Linked DNA regions of Homo sapiens: all the other regions are linked to region 3. The links are contacts of gene promoters, found by promoter capture Hi-C in human tissues and cell types (Jung and others, 2019). All regions are on one chromosome and are shown on one strand. Each heading gives the region's core, a stretch centred on a gene start or on the middle of the fragment in contact. The rest is flanking DNA. Distances are from core to core; before and after follow the strand shown. Region 1 has its middle 33 kb from the start of DAAM2. Region 2 overlaps KIF6 (kinesin family member 6). Region 3 holds the start of KIF6 (kinesin family member 6).

Evidence for each region. Contacts are between HindIII fragments. The study calls those that stand out against the background at their distance.
Region 1: a fragment that was not itself captured here is called in contact with the fragment with the promoter of KIF6 in region 3 in 1 of the 25 tissues and cell types used here (psoas muscle).
Region 2: a fragment that was not itself captured here is called in contact with the fragment with the promoter of KIF6 in region 3 in 1 of the 25 tissues and cell types used here (hippocampus).

Annotation. Positions count from the first base shown.
Region 1 is chr6:39,758,346-39,761,362 of GRCh38, reverse strand. No RefSeq gene overlaps it. Among named protein-coding and RNA genes, the nearest start is that of DAAM2, 33 kb to the left of the region's middle. The HindIII fragment of the contact is 4,847 bases long and covers 1-3,017 here.
Region 2 is chr6:39,679,153-39,682,324 of GRCh38, reverse strand. The region is part of intron 3 of KIF6 (kinesin family member 6); the gene reads left to right. Among named protein-coding and RNA genes, the nearest start is that of KIF6, 45 kb to the left of the region's middle. The HindIII fragment of the contact is 9,076 bases long and covers 1-3,172 here.
Region 3 is chr6:39,723,734-39,726,822 of GRCh38, reverse strand. It overlaps KIF6 (kinesin family member 6), which reads left to right and starts at 1,415. Exons shown (of 23, transcript NM_145027.6): 1 at 1,415-1,578. The coding sequence starts at 1,513. RefSeq lists silencers at 1,175-1,374, 1,081-1,412, 1,625-1,694. The HindIII fragment of the contact is 25,522 bases long and covers 1-3,089 here.

The sequences.
Region 1 (3,017 bases), core at 17-2,516, 35 kb before region 3:
GGATGGGGGTTGATGAGAGAGAACTTAGAGGACGGGTCGATAGGTGCAGCAAACCACCATGGCACACATATACCTATGTAACAAACCTGCACGTTCTGCACATGTATCCCATTTTTTTAAGAAGAAATAAAGAAAAAAAAAGAAAGAAAGAAAATCATGTGTCCTAAGTGCCACAAATTCTCTATGTAGAGGTAAGAGACCTATAAATAATTTTAATATGAATAGAAAAAAAAAAAACAGAAAAAGACTACTCAAGTGAGACCAAGCAAAGTCTTGCTCATCCAGAGCTTGCTATCACAAGGAAGTAGCCACCATCACTTGCATTTCACAGAGACTCAAAAGCAGGCAAAGAAGTGAGAAGTATACCTACAGTCAGGGAATTTAAAAAAAGAATGCTTTAGGGATGGTCTGACTGGAAGCTGTTGGCATGGGGAAGCTCTAAGGTTAATTAGAACCTGGGCATCCTATGTGATTGATTAAAGGTGCGTATTTGACTTTCTTAAAAAAAAAAAGTGGCATTCTTTCTATCACTGCAGGTATAACCTCTTCTTTCTGTACAGAGGACACAGGATCAGTTCTGGCTAAGTATTCTAGGAACTGGCAGTCTACTCTTGTGGTTATTACTACATCCCGGTTATCTAGTGGCTGGAATTTTTCCTCAAGGGATGTCTTGGCAACTACATTCAGAATTCCATTCTATTCTTCCAGAAATAATTTTTCCCCAAAGTACAGACTCATGTTTAAATAAATTAATAATATAATTTGTATGATTTATTTTACCTTTGAACACTAGTTGCTTATCTAGCAGATTTTTAGCATTATTCTGAGTGCCAAAAGGTTTTAGTTACATTTCTATTTCTGTTTTAACTTGGAGGAGTGCACCATCACACTTGAAAAATGGCAAAAAGGTCATGAACTGCCTGTTACTATCTTTGCATAATCCTGCCCTTCGCCTTCACAAAGCTCTCAAGGACTTTCCAATCCATTTTGGGGGACTAACTTTCTCTGAAGTTTAAGATCTGTAAGAAGTAAATTTTGATTTGCAACCTCTGTTACCTAACCTTAACCCATACCAAATCCCTTGCAAACTAAGAAAGAAAGAACAATTCTAAATTAGGCATCATTTTGGCAACTACTTTAGGAAATGTTCTGATTTTTTTAAATGAAATTTATACCAATTAGTTTATACGTTCTTTTGAAATTTGGACACATCAAAGCCCAAAAAAATTAGGCTGTTTAAAAAGATTATTTTACCATGACTACTGTTTTGATGGTATTACTTACTGTACTGTTTCAAAGTTCATTCTGAAAACACTTTAATAGCATGTTTATAGGGGCCAGATGTGCTCAACATTGAGGCAGAGGGCAAGGATTCCAAATCAGGTTGATGAAATCAAAGCCAAACTGTGGGGAAATAATTGGCTTTATTGAACTGGCATGTATATCTATCAGTATTTGAAAATGACCCTGAAACTCTGATAACACCCCCAGACTGTAGGAGTGAATGACAAGACAGTACAAGAGTAAGGAGTGAAAAGTCCTGTGCATCACAATCTAATAGTTCCATGAAGACCTCCAAAGTGAAGATAGGCTATTTGACTTATGGGACTGGCAGTTTTGGAATCCTTTTAGGTTTTGGAACTCTGCTCTCCTAGAGAAACAGCTGGGCTTATCTGGGCTCTGTAGGTGGGTTAGCTCAGTGAGCCAAAACAATGCTAATGAAACAAGGTGAGACACCCATTTATTCGGCCCCTATGATGTGCCAGGAGTTTTTATGTATATCATCTCATTTAAGCTTCACAATAGCCCAAAAAGGTATAATAAATTCAGAAATTAGGAAACAGAACCTCAGAGAACTGAAATAATTTGCCCAAGGGCATTCATTCCTCCAGTAAGTGAGATAGCCTGGGACTTGAACTCTGATCTGATGACTCAGAAACTCTTTCCTATACACATCAGAGACTCTCTGAAGCCAAGATCAAAGACTGTTAGCTTGCTCCTGTAACAACCACAGACCCCACTCCTAATACTGGCAGATAGCTGCTGAATGGATGCTCTGAGTAATGGAGATTAGACAGAAAAATGTGAATGGGTAACAAAAAACTCACCTAGCTATGAGCAGATGGTGGATCTTGCTCACTTCTGTATCCTATCCCTACCCCCACAAACACATGCACACTGCACTAGACCCTAGCGTAATATCTGGCAAGTGCTCAAGATCTTTCTTGAATTAGATCTGTCACTAGTAAGAATGATAATGATAATAACAGCAACAATCATAAGAGTTAAAATGTCATGAGCAATTTACTACATCATAGGCACTGTCTTACACACTCAGTAACCATCAACTCTTTGGGTCCCCGTAGCATCAGGTGACAGAGGCACTGTTCATTATTGCACTTTGCAGGGAAGAAAGTAAAGCACAGAAATGTTAGCTAATTTCTCCAAAGTGACATAGCAAGCGAGGGTCAGAATCTAAAAGAAAACATAATCAAGCTGGCTTTATGTACCCAGGTTCTTAACCATTCTACTAGTATCTTTCAAATACATCTGATCCTGAGGCACTTGTTAGAAACACTTTCCCAGTGCCATTTTTCTGAGCAGACTAATTTGGAAGTATAGCTTGGGACGCAGAGTCCTGTAATATTTTTAAAGAGCCCCCATGAGACTCTTATCATGTTAAACATTTCACTTCCCTCAGCTGTCTCTTGCTACTAAAGAAACCCCTCTACCAGCACAGTTGAGCACTGTCAGAGGCATCATCTTGGTGAAAGAGGAGTCAATTTGTTTATGGGCATGGGGAGAATAACTCCCCATGGAAAAAAAAATGTTATTGTTTTGTTCTTTCTCCCTTTAACATTCAGAGCTCAAAAAAAATGTGTGGTATAGAAGGGGGCAAGGATGGAGATAAAAGGCTGAGCTTGACCAGGCACAGTGGCTCACGCCTGTGATCCCAGCACTTTGGGAGACCAAGGCAGGTGGATCATGAGGTCAAGAGATGGAGAACATCCTGGTCA
Region 2 (3,172 bases), core at 461-2,960, 45 kb after region 3:
AGTCTATGCCAATATAGCCTGGGTGTGTCGTAGGCTAAACCATCTAGATTTGTGTAAGTACATGCTATGATGTTCACACAAGGACTAAATCTCCAAATGAAGGATTTCACAGAATGTATCACTATTGTTTAGCGATGCATAACAGTACTTATGCTTTCTGATCTTTTTCTTGTTTATTTATTATCTGTCTCCCCGATTCATACATAAGTTCCATGAGAACATGGTTCTTTTCTGTCTTCTTATTACTGCATTCCTAGCAGTGAGACCAGTGCCTGACACATGATATGTAGTAAGTATTCATAAATATCTGTGGAATGAGTAAGTTGACAGAATTCAGTATTTCCCCCGATGAGCATTTTTTTTCTCTGAAAGAAAAAAATGGTGAATTTTCCAAACTCTACATACCCCTGTAGTTCTTCCTACATTCATCATTCCCTAAGATGTGCTTTTCTTTGGATTTGTACATAATGCCAATACAGTTAAAATCCCATTACAGTGAATTCCACGGGGCATGCTATTGGCTTTGTTATAGCGGAATTTGTCACAGGGCCAGAAATTGCATTTCCAGTCCACAGAAACTAAGGATGAAACTGCTTATTGTCCATTTCTCCGTGGAATTGGGAAGGGAAGAGTTCTGACTCTGAAATGAGAAGTGAGATCTATCTAGTGAACCTCCTGCCTCTTCTCTAGCCTCCCTGATATTTTACATGGAATGTTGGCTTTGGGTTTTTTGTTTGTTTCTGGCTGAAGGATTTGAGTATTGAAAGAAGTAGGGGTAGTTGAGGAAGAGAAAAAAATTAAAAGGCAATTATGATTTGTTGACAAGAAAAGATTCTAGAGTTTTTTTTTAAAACATTAAGGTAAATAGTATTCTCTCCTACTTTTTGTAGCATAAAAAGCTACATCCTCAGGTGCTGTTTTTATACATGAAAATATACATGAACAAGGGCCAGAAAATGAAACAAAACAAAACAGAATACAGTTCCTATAGTGAACTATTTGGTGTTGGCAGTTTGTTGTAAATAGAGAAGTGAAGGTCTTTTTGTTTTTGCTTTTAATTGGGTATTCTTCTGAAATATGGAAACAGCTTGGTTATATTATGAAGATCTTTCCTTCATTGTAATGGTCATTGTGTTCAAATCGGATCATCAAAATTTTGCCTTAATGTTATAGTATAAAAATGTCTTGAGTTATTTTTTATTTTATTTTATTTTATTTTATGTATTTATTTGCCCAGATTCAACTTCTCAGCATTGAATTACTTTTTGAAGTCATTTATTAAGAACTTTTATTGGCTTTCTCAGACAGACACATTTATTCCCTCTTCCTTGTACCCAAAGTACTTGATACATGGCCTTTATCATATTGTAATTGTATTTATCTGCCTGTGTCCTGTACACTGACCATACTAAAGACAAGCACTGTGTTTTATTCACTTTTGCATTCCCCACCTGCAGTCCTTCTTCTATTCCCTATTTTACCTAATAAAATGGGACAAAAAGGGTTTTAAATACATGTTTATGGAATGGTAGCACCACTTCTGTAGCTACCTTAGCTTATTGCCTTACTTTTATAACCACTTACTACATCTTCTACTGGCCTTTTTAGCAAAGCTGCTGGCTTAATGACCACCTATTTCTAGTCTTTGTCAAGTTGTCAGAGTAGCATGGGGTATTTGTTTCACTGCCTGTTAAACTGCATTCTCTCTCTTTTAGTTCTTAGATTAAGGTCTTCATTGATAAGCCCATCATGTCTCCCTCTACTATCTATCTGTGAGAAAGGTAGCTGACCCATTTCCCTTCTACAGTTTCATATATGCATTAGTGAATTTTCTGTTGGTGTTCTCCTGTTTACTGTATTGAACTCTAAGTTGTTTGAAGGCCTATCTAAACCAGTCAGTGCATAGTCACTGAAAGCCAGAGCTATGATGGGTACAGCAGGAATTACTGACAAATATTAAAGTGCCATGTCTGCTCTTAAGAAGCTGATAGTTTTCTGAATTAAAAACTAATTATACACCCGGGCATGGTGGCTCATGCCTGTAGTCCCAGCACTTTGGGAGGCTGAGGTGGGCGGGTCACTTGAGGTCAGGAGTTCAAAACCAGCCTGGCCAACATGGCGAAACTTTGTGTCTACTAAAATTACAAAAATTAGCCAGGTGTGGTGGTGTGCCGCTGTAATCCCAGCTACTTGGGAGGCTGAGGCATGAGAATTGCTCAACCCGGGAAGTGGAGGTTGCAGTGAGCTGAGATCACGCCACTGCACTCCAGCCTGGGCAACAGCATGAGACCCTGCCTCAAAATAAACAAACAAAAAAACTAACTATACTTGTTTTATTTGAGATGCCAGAACTTTTAAGATATACTGTTAGGTTATAACAGCTTCCATGTAAGAAAAGAAACCCTGCCAGCCAGGCATGGTGGCTCACGCCTGTAATCCCAGCACTTTGGGAGGCTGAGGTGGGCGGATCACGAGGTCAGGAGATTGAGACCATCCTGGCTAACACGGTGAAACCCCTTCTCTACTAAAAAAATACAAAAAATTAGCCGGGCATGGTGGCATGCACCTGTAGTCCCAGCTACTCGGGAGGCTGAGGCAAGAGAATTGCTTGAACCCAGGAGGTGGAGGTTACAGTGAGCCGAGATTGCACCACTGCACTCCAGCCTGGGCAGCAGAGTGAGACTCCGCCTCAAAAAAAAAAAAAAAAAAAGAAAAGAAAAGAAACCCTGCCATGTATTATCTATGCATTGATTATAAGGCTGATCTCCAATTCAGAAACATGGACATTCTGGATAGCATTCCATGGAGAGAGAATGACATGTTCAAAAGCCAAAGGGAATTTCAGAAGAAGCCAAAGGATCTAAAATTCTACTGGACAGATGACTCCTCTGTTAACTTTTCTTCCGTCTTCCTTGCCCTGTCCCCCACCGTTCCATTTCTAGGTATCTCACCCCTGGTGGTAAGGTAAGCATCAGTGAGGATAATACCGCCCTAATGCATCCCTTAAAAATGATATGATGTAAGCAGATTAACTGGACTCTTTAAAAAGAGACTGAGATATCATAAATTTGGCCATGTGAATTCATGTATCAGTACACACAGCACTGTTTTCCACACAAGTAGGTACAGTTAGTACCAATTAAATGATGGCTTCCTTTTGTCTTCATCTGTT
Region 3 (3,089 bases), core at 166-2,665:
CAAGATACAGAACAGCCCATCACAAGGATTTCTTTTATAACCATACCCTGCACACCTCCCTGGCAATAGTAATAGAACCATACGGTAGTTAGCTTTCGAGTCTGGCTTCTTTCATGAAACATAATTCCCCGAAAATTCAACCAATTTGTTACGTGTATCAACACTTCCTTCCTTCTTAATTGCTGAATGGTATTCCAGTTATTTTAAACTATCAGCTGAAGAACATCTGGGTTTTTTTTCCAGTTTGGGGCTATTACAAATAAAGGTGCTAAAACTATAAACACACATGCGCAGGTTTTTGTGTGAACACACGTTTTCATTCATCTGAGATAAATGCCCAAGAGTGCAATTGCTGTGTCTTAGAGTAGTTGCACCTTTAGTTTTGTAAGAAACTGTCAAACTATTTTCCAGAGTGGCTGTACCTTTATACAGTGTATGTTTTACATTATACATTCCTACCAGTAAAGTGCAACTGATTCAGTTTCTCCACATCTTTGCTAGCATCTGGTGTTGCCACTTTTTTTTTTTTTTTTTTTTTTTAAGCCATTCTGATAGATGAATAGTGATGCCTCATTGTGGTTTTAACTTATATTTCCCACGTGGATAATAATGTTGACTATCTTTTCATGTGCTAACAGTGTTTGAAGAGCTCATCCTTTCTTGCCGTGACCATTGTGTGGGAAACAGTCCCCTTCATCCAGTTTTATCCTTTTCCAAAACAGAGCTAGCCCCACTTCTAATTCCATCATGGCATAGTTTGTATTCCTTGGTTTTGATTTCCTGTTGAAAATCTGTCTCCTTGTCACTTGAGAGACCTTGTGAAGGAAAAAAAAAATCTGTCTCCTTCTTCAGACTGTGATCTCCAAGTGGGCTGGAGCAGTTCTGCAATCTTGGCTCACTACAGCTTCGACCTCCCGGGCTCAAGCGATCCTCCTGCCTCAACCTCCCGAGTAGCTGGGATACAGGCGCGCCACCACGCTTGGCTAACTTTTGTATTTTTTGTAGAGACGGAGTCTCACTATGCTGCCCAGGCTGGTCTCAAATTCCTGGGCTCTAAGCGATCCTACCACCTCGGCTTCCCAAAAACTGCTGGGATTACAAGCATGAGCCACCACGCCCGGCCCAGTGCTGTATTTTTTTTTAAAGGCAAGGGCATGGAGAATAAAATGGGTGAATGAGCGGGGCGGGGCAAGGCATGGTGGTTGTTCCCCTTTAACCACACGGTCCAGGCCGGGTCCGGCGCTAAACCCAGAGCCCAGACACTCGCTCATGCGCATGCGCAGCGCTCTCCTCTCCACCCCCGCCCTCCCCTCCCTAGCCCCGCCCCGTAGTGGCCTCCTTCCGGTCGCGACCAATTAGAGGGAGGAGGCGGGATCCTGGCTGCCAAGGTGCTCACTGGGTAGTGTCCCTAGCTACTGTTGCTAAGACTGTGGGTCGCCGGAGGTGGTGGGAGTTAGTTTTGGCAGCCCGGGCCTGAGAGAGGTCAAGGGTCATTGCAGAGCCAGGGAGGAGATGGTGAAGCAGACTATCCAGATATTCGCGAGGGTGAAGCCCCCTGTCCGGAAGCACCAACAAGGGGTACGGGCTGGAGCCTCCGGGGCGCCGGCGCGGCGGGGCCTCTTGGGCTGGGGTCGGGCGGCGGCACGCGAAGGGGCTGGGCGGAGGTGAGGGGCTTGCTGGTGGGCGCCGAGGCCGCCCGGAATCCCGCACACACTGACCGAGGAGCCCTGCAGCCGCGAAGACCCCCGCGCACTGCTGTCAGCTACGCGACCGACAGCCAGGCCACTCCTACCTGGCACAGCGCAGACCCGGCAGAGAGCCATTTTTTTTGCACCCAGGCACACGTGTTCACGCGGGGGCAGACTAGTGCATGTTCAGTATGCCTGTATAGTGTGCGCTTCAACTACACATAAGCACTTATTGCACCTTTCTGGGAAACTCACGCAGCACCGCACATGCAGATACACTCAAAGGTACATTTTGGCACTCGGGCAAAACGTGCAAGCAAGAGATGCGTGTTTATGTACCTCTGAAATAATACAAATATAGATAGACACAAATGCACAAAGCATACACATATGTAGTACTTTGCACCCAGTGGGGCCTCAGTAATTAGTTGACTGTTGTTATTCTCCAACATAAACGTGAACCTTTACATATACTCCTTGTATTAATAGATATAGGTAGATGCTTAAGCATCCTGACCCAAAGAATACGCATGTGTACTTCATTCAGAAACAATTAACTAAATATTTACCAGGTGCTTCCTCTAGTGTGCTAAATTCAGAAAGGTATAAAGAAGGTTAAGACATTGCCCTGACTCTGAGCAATGATACTTTGTATGCACCTTTTTTTTTTTTTTTTTTTTTTGAGACGGAGTCTCGCTCTGCCACCCAGACTGAAGTGCAGTGGCGCGATCTCGGCTCACTGCAAGCTCTGCCTCTTGGATTCACGCCATTCTCCTGCCTCAACCTCTCAAGTAGCTGGGACTACAGGTGCCCGCCACCACGCCCGGTTAATTTTTTGTGGTTTTAGAAGAGACCGGGTTTCACCCTGTTAGCTAGGATGGTCTCGATCTCCTCCTGATCTTGTGATCCGCCCGCCTCGGCCTCCCAAAGTGCTGGGATTACAGGCGTGAGCCACCGCGCCCAGCACTTTTTATGCTTCTTAAATATTTCAAAACATCCTCTCTTCTGCCTAGAAGGGAGCATAGTCATTCTTATGTATCTTGAGAAATGGCCACCTGACAGGTGCTTTATCTGCATTATCTCTCATTCTCACAAGAACCCTGCAAGGTTGGTGTCATTTTCCGCATTTTACAGATTAGGAAACTGAGTCTCAGGTTAAATAATGTGACCAAGGCACCCAGCTGGGGAGTGGCATAGCTGTAATTTTTTTTTTCAATTTTAGAACATTTATTTTATTCGTTATTATACTTTAAGTCCTGGGGTGCATGTGCAGAACGTACAGGTTTCTCACGTAGGTATACACGTGCCGTGGTGGTTTGCTGCACCCACCAATCTGTCATCTACATTAGGTATTTCTCCTAATGCTATCCCTCCCGTAGCCTCCCACCCCACGACAGGCCC